Linked DNA regions of Homo sapiens: region 1 is linked to region 2. Evidence: promoter capture Hi-C in human tissues and cell types (Jung and others, 2019). All regions are on one chromosome and are shown on one strand. Each heading gives the region's core, a stretch centred on a gene start or on the middle of the fragment in contact. The rest is flanking DNA. Distances are from core to core; before and after follow the strand shown. Region 1 holds the start of LOC124905043 (a long non-coding RNA gene). Region 2 holds the start of FTCD (formimidoyltransferase cyclodeaminase).

Region 1 (4,065 bases), core at 647-3,146, 45 kb after region 2:
GAGCAGGATGTCCGTGGGGGACTGCATGGTGACGCTCTCCGAGGTGTCCAGCACGAAGTACACGTGGATGGGGCAGTCGGTCTTCTCTGTGGGGCACAGGACCTGTCACGAGCCAGCCTCAGGAGGGACTGCTGTTGGAGCCCCGTTTCCTGGCCCCGTGCCTGTTTGTGGGTTTGACCTCACTGCCCCCGAATGCCAGAGCCCCCGGCCCCCAACCCCTGGCACCTGGGTACTGGTCCCAACTGCCCCCCAAATGCCCAGAGCCCCCGGCCCCCGACCCCTGGCACCTGGGTACTGGTCCCAACTGCCCCCCAAATGCCCAGAGCCCCCGGCCCCCGACCCCTGGCACCTGGGTACTGGTCCCAACTGCCCCCCAAATGCCCAGAGCCCCCGGCCCCCGACCCCTGGCACCTGGGTACTGGTCCCAACTGCCCCCCAAATGCCCAGAGCCCCCGGCCCCCGACCCCTGGCACCTGGGCAGTTGTTGTTTCTCTCGGTAGTGTCCGGCGAGATGACCTCCTGCTGCTGGGCCTGGATGGCCCCCAGGATTCCCCAGAGCAGGAGCACGGAGCAGGTGCCCTGGAGCATCTTGGCAGCACCTGTGGCCCTGAAGTCCTGCAACAGGGGTGGGGGTCGCTCAGACACCCCCAGTGCCTCTCCCCTGGCACCCTCCCCCATGGCAGGCGCACGCACAGCAGGTCAGCGGGATTGGGGGCACTGCCCTCAGTCTTCAAGGAAGCGGGGTCTGCGCCCAGCACACACCGTCACCAGCATCTGGACTGGGGGGCTTGCGCCCTCTTGCCCCACCCTGGGTGGGGTCACAGATGTTTAGTGGGTGCCTCTGGGCTCAGTTTTGGGTGGGATTTGGATGGTTGAGGCCCTTCCATGTCCTCCAGGGCTGGGTGGAGTGGGTAGCTGGGCGCGTCGGCATGGAAGGGAATGGAGCACCACTGTCTGGCGCCCCCCACTGCCTGGGGCTGCCCTGGAAACAGTGCAGAGGGGAGGGCGGGAGAGAGATCCCAGCTTCCCCAGACCGGCTCCCCTGCAGAGCTAGGCACTCTCTCTCCAGCCTGGCTCCATTCCCTTTAAACAGGACTTTGATAAGGAGGGAGGGAGGACTCTGTCAAGTGTAGGGACACAGCCGTCATTAGCCTGGCTTTCCTTTCTGTTGGGTGCCAGGACCCTGGGGCAAACAGATCCAGCCCTTGAACGTCCATCCTCCCTGATGCCCTGTGGCTTGGCCTAAGCTCCAGCTCCAGGAGGCCATCAGGACGGGCCTCACTGTGCTGCTGGCTCCGCAGAGTGGGGCTGGCAGCAGCCGGGCAGCTGGGCAGAAAGGGCACCGGGCCTGGTTCAGAGCGTGCAGTTCCAGGGGTAATGCAGGGATTGGAGTGCCGCCCTCTCCTCGGTGCAGATGGGAGGAGTGTCCAAGCACCGGGACTAGGGGAGGCGCTGCCAGGAGAGGGCCCTGAAGGGTTGCTGTGATTTTGCGGCGTCTGGAGTGGATGAGGTGACCCAGGCCAGACCTGCTCAGCCTGGGGCCCAGGGAGGAATGAAGTCCGTTCCCAAAGGTGCCAGCTCAGGCAGTTTGTGGGTGAGTTTCACAGCTTCAAGGACAAGCACTTCATGCTATTTAACTTGTTTTAGAACATAAAAAGATAAACTTTTTCCCAATTCATTTTTAAATGTTGCATAACCTGTGACCAAAGCTTGATAAAAAAAAAAGTCCCTAAAAGTAACTCTACAGATAAATATCACTATAAATATTACTGATGGCAGCGGCAGCCCATCTGGTGTGGCCGCTGCCATCACACTGGCTGCTCAGGGAGGGCCCATGGAAGAGGCAGACAGGCCCCCAACCCCGCAGACTGCCTCCCTGGGGGCCGCTGCCATGGGGCCGGGCCGGGTGGTGTGCTGGGTGAAGGGGAGCTCACGGCGGTGTTGCCCCTGTCTGGGATGCTGGCCCAGGTCTGGAGACCCTGCCCCAGGCTGCGAGAGGACATGGCCAGGTACCATGCTCCACGGAGCCAGCAGGAGCCGGGGATAAGTGGGATCCCTGCCCCTTGCAGTTTGGCGAGGTGAGAGTTCCCCAGGTACAACTGCCCAAGTCGTGGCTGTGGATCTGGGCCTTCTGCTCCATGGAGGAGGCAGGAGCCAGCCCCCACTCCTGGTGCAGTTTCAGCTGCCCCAACTGGGGCTGCTGACCCAGGCATCGCTGCACTCTTGGGGAGCCAGGGAAGGCCCCTCTTTCCCTTGTAGGCCTGGAGGTGCCTGTTCCCGCTGCCCAGCTTCTTCCCGCTCCCACCACCCACTCCAATCTCAGAGCAGAGTTGGGGCTGAGCCTGGGCACTGTCACAGCCTGGCCGGGTGGGTGCATGCTTGTGGCAGTGCTGACATGCCAGCCCCCTGCTGACTTGGCCCCCTCCAAACTGTGGGCACTGAGAAGTGCAGGAGGGGAGGCTTGGGGGGGTGCTGAGGGTGGCTGGGCACCGGTGCCCCTTGGTACCAGCAGCCTGGGCACCATGGATGGCTGCAGGAGGCAGATAGGCTCCTGGGCAGAAGAGGATGGGTCCCCAGTGAAGCCCCACCTTCAGGCTGGGGCAGGCCTGAAGCCTGGGGGCCGGGTTGCCCGTCCTACGGACCAGAGGGGAACTCAAGGTGCTTTCTTCTGGGCCTGCACATGGCTGCACATGGACCAATCAGCATGCACTTCCCCTCTCTGAGGCCTTTAAAAGCCCCAGGCTCAGTCAGAGCAGGGCAGAGCATGGCACGACCAGCTGCAGAGAGGAGGTGCTCTCTCTGCTGAGAGCTTCAGGACCTGAAGGGATGTCAGGACGACCAGCTGCAGAGAGGAGCTACCCTCTCCAGGGCTTTCTCTCTGCTGAGAGCTGAACACTAGTTGAGATGCCCTGTTTGCAGAGAGGAGACACGCTCTCGAGGGCCTCCTCTCTGCTAAGAGCTGCAGAGACAATGGGATGACCTGCCTGCAGAGAGGAGCCACCCACTCCAGGGCCTTCTCTCTGCTGAGAGCTGAACATTTGACAAGACAACCCGCCGACAAGACAACCCGCCTACAGAGAGGGGCTGCCCCCTGCGGGTCTCCTGTGAGCTCCCCTAACACTCAATAAAGCTTCTCTGTCTTGCACACCCTCCACTTGTCTGTGTACCTCATTCTTCCTGGACACAGGACAAGAACTTGGGCAAAGGCGCCACTGGCCATAGAGGTTTCAGGCCAGAAAAGTGACACCCTAAAAATCCCATAACATTATCACAAAAATTCTAGCCAATATTAAAAACTAAAATCCAATAGCATATTAAGGACCACTATACCAGAACTATAATATGAAGTTAAAGTACAGTGTTGCCACAAACACTAGGGAATACATTAATGTAAGTCACATTAACATAAAATGGGAAAAAATATGCAATTGCTTCAATAGATCCCTGAAACATCAATTTCTAACTAAGAAACAACAACAGCCAGACAAGGTAAAACCTAGTAAGAAATTTAGGAGTAGAATTAACTCTATAAAGGATATACATTTCAAATCAAGAGCTCACATCATATTTTACACAAAAAGCTAAAATAGTGGTTCTTATCTTTGTGGTCATGGACCCTTTTAAGAGTCTACACAATTTCACCTTACACAAATGCATAGATGCTCATATACAGAAATCATGTCCAGGAATTCAGGGATTCCATTCGTAGATCTAACCCTGGGTTAAAAAATCCTGCATTAGAAGAATGCTTACTACAGTACAAAAAAAATGGGGTGGGGGCAAACAGTGCAGATCTTACGCTACCATTCAGTGTTGTGTTGGAAGCCAATGCAATAAGACAGTAAAAATAAAAGTATAACTGTTGGAAAAGAAGAGACAAAACTGTCCTTATTAAAGATAGGATTGTCTACCCAGAAAATCATCTGAACAAAGTTTTTTTAAAAAAGAGAAAAAAAAATATATATATATATAGACAGAGAGAAAGAGAGAAAGAAAGAGAAAGGAGGGGAGATTAGGGAGAGAAAATTTAGTGAGCCACTTAGAAAAATATATCATTGATGAAAA
Region 2 (3,682 bases), core at 859-3,358:
ATCCTCCCCTCCTGGTCTCCCTCCAGACACAGATCCCTGACCCCATCCCCCACTCCCAGCCTCCAGACGTGGAGCCCTGGCTGGGGAACTCTGTGTGCTCCCAGCCTCTGAAGGTTTCTGGGCTTACCTGGCTCCTGTCTCATCCCAGTCCCCCTGAGTAGCCACGGAGGTGGGGTCCCTAAGGCCCACATGGTTGGGGTTCCATTAAGAACTTCAAGTGGGTGGCTCACGCCTGTAATCCCAGCACTTTGGGAGACCGAGGTGGGTGGATCATGAGGTCAAGAGATCGAGACCATCCTGGCCAACATGGTGAAACCCCATCTCTACTAAAAATACAAAAAATTAGCTGGGTGTGGTAGCGGGTGCCTGTAGTCCCAGCTACTCTGGAGGCTGAGGCAGGAGAATGGCGTGAACCCGGGAGGCAGAGCTTGCAGTGAGCCAAGATCGCACCACTGCACTCCAGCCTGGGCGACAGAGCGAGACCCTGTCTCAAAAAAAAAAAAAAAAAAAAAAAAGAACTTCAAGTGGGGCTGGGCTCAGTGGCTCACACTTGTAATTCCAGCACTTTGGGAGGCCGAGGCAGGAGGATCGCTTGAGCCCAGGAGTTTGAGACCAGCCTGGGCAACGTGGTGAGACCTCATGTGTATTTGTCTGATAAAGACATACGCAAGACTGGGTAATTTTTAAAGAAAAAGCAGTTTAATGGACTCAACAGTTCCACAATCATGGTGGAAGGTGAAAGAGGAGCAAAGTCACGTCTTACAAGAGGGTGTGTGCAGGGGAACTGCCCTTTATAAAACCATCGGATCTCGTGAGACCATTCACTATCACAAAAACAGCACCGGAAAAAGCCGCCCCCGTGATTCAGTGACCTCCCACCGGGTCCCTCCCATGACGTGGGAACTATGGGCTCTACAATTCAAGATGAGATTTAGGTGGGGACACAGCCAAACCATATCACCATGTCTACCAAAAATGGAAAAGTTAGCCAGTGTAGTGGTGTGTGCCTGTGGCCCAGATGCTCAGGAGGCTAAGGTGAAAGGACCTCTTGAGCCTGGGGACCAAGGCTGCAGGAAGCCATGATTGTGCCGCTGCACTCCAGCCTGGCTGACAGAGTGAGACTTTGTCTCAAAAAAAAAAAAAAGAGAAAATGATAAAAGCACTGCAAGTGGGCAGCGGCTGAACGTGGAGACAGGAGTTCTCCCTTCTGAGCACGGCCCTGGTGCCGCTGACTTCGTGGGGAGCCTGTAGTCAGGGGAGCAGCAGCTGGGGAGAGCTGGGGTCTCAGCTGCCTTCCCCCATATCGCACATGCCCGTCTCGTGTGTATCTGCACTCTCACACGCGTGTTCCCCTGCCCTGCGCTCACATGTATCTGCACTCACTCTCACATGCTTGCTTCCCCTGCCCCATGCTCACGTGTACCTGCACTCTCACACGTGTGCTCCCCTACCCCACACTCACATGTATCCTCGCTCACTCTCACACGTGTTCCCCTGTCCTGTGCTCACATGTATCCACGCTCTCACACATGTGCTCCCCTGCCTTGTGCTCACGTGTATCTGCACTCTCACGTGTTCCCCTGCCCTGCCCTCACGTGTATCCTCACTCACTCTCACACGCGTGCTCCCCTGCACTCTCCTGTCTGAGCTGAGCTGACCTCAGTTGGGTGCTGCGAGCCAGGGCCTCATGCTGGCCTCTCGCCCTCCACAGCCCCAGGGGTCCAGGCTCCTCCAGGAACAAACGCAGGCCCCACGGGCTGCCTGGAAGGCCTCCCAGAAGGCAGCACAGGGTCACGAGGGTCACCCGCAGTGGCACAGGGAGGCCTCGTCACGACAGGATTCCAGCCAGGCTGGCCTGATGCTCCTGGGGGTCCTCGGCACATGCCCCTTCACCCTGGCATGTGCTTCTTTTCCGGGAACCCACACTCTGGCTGAGTGGAGCCATCCCCTCTGGGTCAACAGCACCCGGGGTGGCTCTGCAGCACCCCACTCCGCGGCTGCACAGGGACCTTGGCCCCACTGCTCCTTGTGCCTTGCTGGTTAATGAGAAGCCGGTGGGGAGGTGCTGCCGGTGAGCGTATAAAGGCCCTGGCGGCGGCTGCGGAGCACTGGCCCTGTCCTTCCATCTGCCCAGAGAGGAGCATCTGGATCAAGGTGCTGGCCATGTCCCAGCTGGTGGAATGCGTCCCCAACTTTTCGGAGGGGAAGAACCAGGAGGTGAGGCCCGAGGAGCTGGTCAAGCATCTAGGGCTGATGGGGCAGCTTGAGTGGCTAAGGCCCAGGCCATGGAGGAGGTGGTGGGCTTGGTGTCCCGGGTCGTCTTCCCAGGATGGGCAGAGCCGCTGCCCGTGGGCCCCAAGGACATCCCGTGGCTCAGGGCCCTGGGGAGTGCCTGACCCAGGGGTGGGTGGAACACGACTGGTGCTTGTGGGGGCTGAGGCTTGGCTGTGGCTTCAGGGGCCTTTCGGGTGCTTTCGGTGGGGGGTTGGGCAGATCTCTGGGCCTCAAAGGGCCTTGGTGCTCCCCCCTGAAAATGGGGCTCCTGCCACTGACTGAAAGGGCTGTGTGAGGCCACACGAGGTGGCCCAGCATGGTCCCCACTGCCGCCTCTCCATCTCCACTGGAGTTAGCTTGCTGAGCCCCCACCCTGCAGCCACCATCCTCACTGGACCCAAAACGAAGTAGGCACAGAGGGGGCAGCAGGCCCCCAGGTCCGGCCTCTCGCCTTCCACAGCCCTGAGGTCCAGGCTCCTCCGGGAACAAACGCAGGCCCTAAGGGCCACCTGGAAGGCCTCCCAGAGCGCAGCACCAGGCCACAGGGGTCACCCGCAGGGGTGCAGGGAGGCCTCGTCATGCCGGGATTCCAGCCAGCACCAAGGCCCTGGGACAGGGCAAGATTTGGGGCTGAGCCCCTGCTCCCAGCAGTCCTGCCACCCGGAAGGTTCTAGGCCCTTCAGGCCCCTCCCCCATGCTGGTGATCTGTCCCTCCCCTGCTCGGGGGTGGGGGTCCCGGCCCCTCTGTGACCTGCGCCTGTGGTCACCTTCTTGGATCCCCGGCCACGTCTCTGGCATCTGTCTGTCGGAGCAGAGCCCGTGAGTCTCTCCTGGAGGCACCACCTGCAGCCCCTTGTGGGGACTGTGCTTGGGCTGGAGTGACTGTGGCTGCTGTGAGGGTTCCCGGGCGGCCGCTGTGTGCGGGCACTTTCGGTGGGAGCTCAGCTTGTCGGAGAGCCCCCAAAGGCTTGGCCCGCCTCCTCAGCCCCCATTTGTGTCTCGGGGTGCAGCCACCTCCAAGCTCCTTTTCCTTCTTTCAAACGGGGAGACTGAGGTGTGGGGGCCGGGCCTGTGTCCCAGGTGATCGACGCCATCTCTGGAGCCATCACACAGACCCCGGGCTGCGTGCTGCTGGATGTGGACGCAGGCCCTTCCACCAACCGCACCGTGTACACCTTCGTGGGGCCGCCGGAGTGCGTGGTGGAGGGGGCCCTCAACGCTGCCCGGGTAGCTTCCCGACTTATCGACATGAGCAGGCACCAAGGTGAGGTCTCTGGGCTCTCCTGTGGCTGCCGTGTCTCAGAATGTCAGGGCCGAGCCCTGTCCTGGTGTCCTGGGAGAGGGGGTAGGCCCGGGGCCCAGGCTTGGAACGTGGGGTCCAGTGGGGCTGGCTCTGGCTCTCCTAGGA

Evidence for each region. Contacts are between HindIII fragments. The study calls those that stand out against the background at their distance.
Region 1: a contact is called between a fragment that was not itself captured here and the fragment with the promoter of FTCD in region 2, in 6 of the 25 tissues and cell types used here (H1 embryonic stem cells, IMR-90 fibroblasts, aorta and 3 more).

Annotation. Positions count from the first base shown.
Region 1 is chr21:46,108,000-46,112,064 of GRCh38, reverse strand. It overlaps COL6A2 (collagen type VI alpha 2 chain), which reads right to left. Exons shown (of 28, transcript NM_001849.4): 2 at 474-615; 3 at 1-86. The coding sequence starts at 588. It overlaps LOC124905043 (a long non-coding RNA gene), which reads left to right and starts at 34. Exons shown (of 2, transcript XR_007067910.1): 1 at 34-1,594; 2 at 1,969-3,150. The HindIII fragment of the contact is 4,579 bases long and covers 1-4,065 here.
Region 2 is chr21:46,154,005-46,157,686 of GRCh38, reverse strand. FTCD (formimidoyltransferase cyclodeaminase) reads left to right here and starts at 2,108. Exons shown (of 14, transcript NM_206965.2): 1 at 2,108-2,217; 2 at 3,355-3,538. The coding sequence starts at 2,164. RefSeq lists enhancers at 2,335-3,038, 3,039-3,682. The HindIII fragment of the contact is 26,017 bases long and covers 1-3,682 here.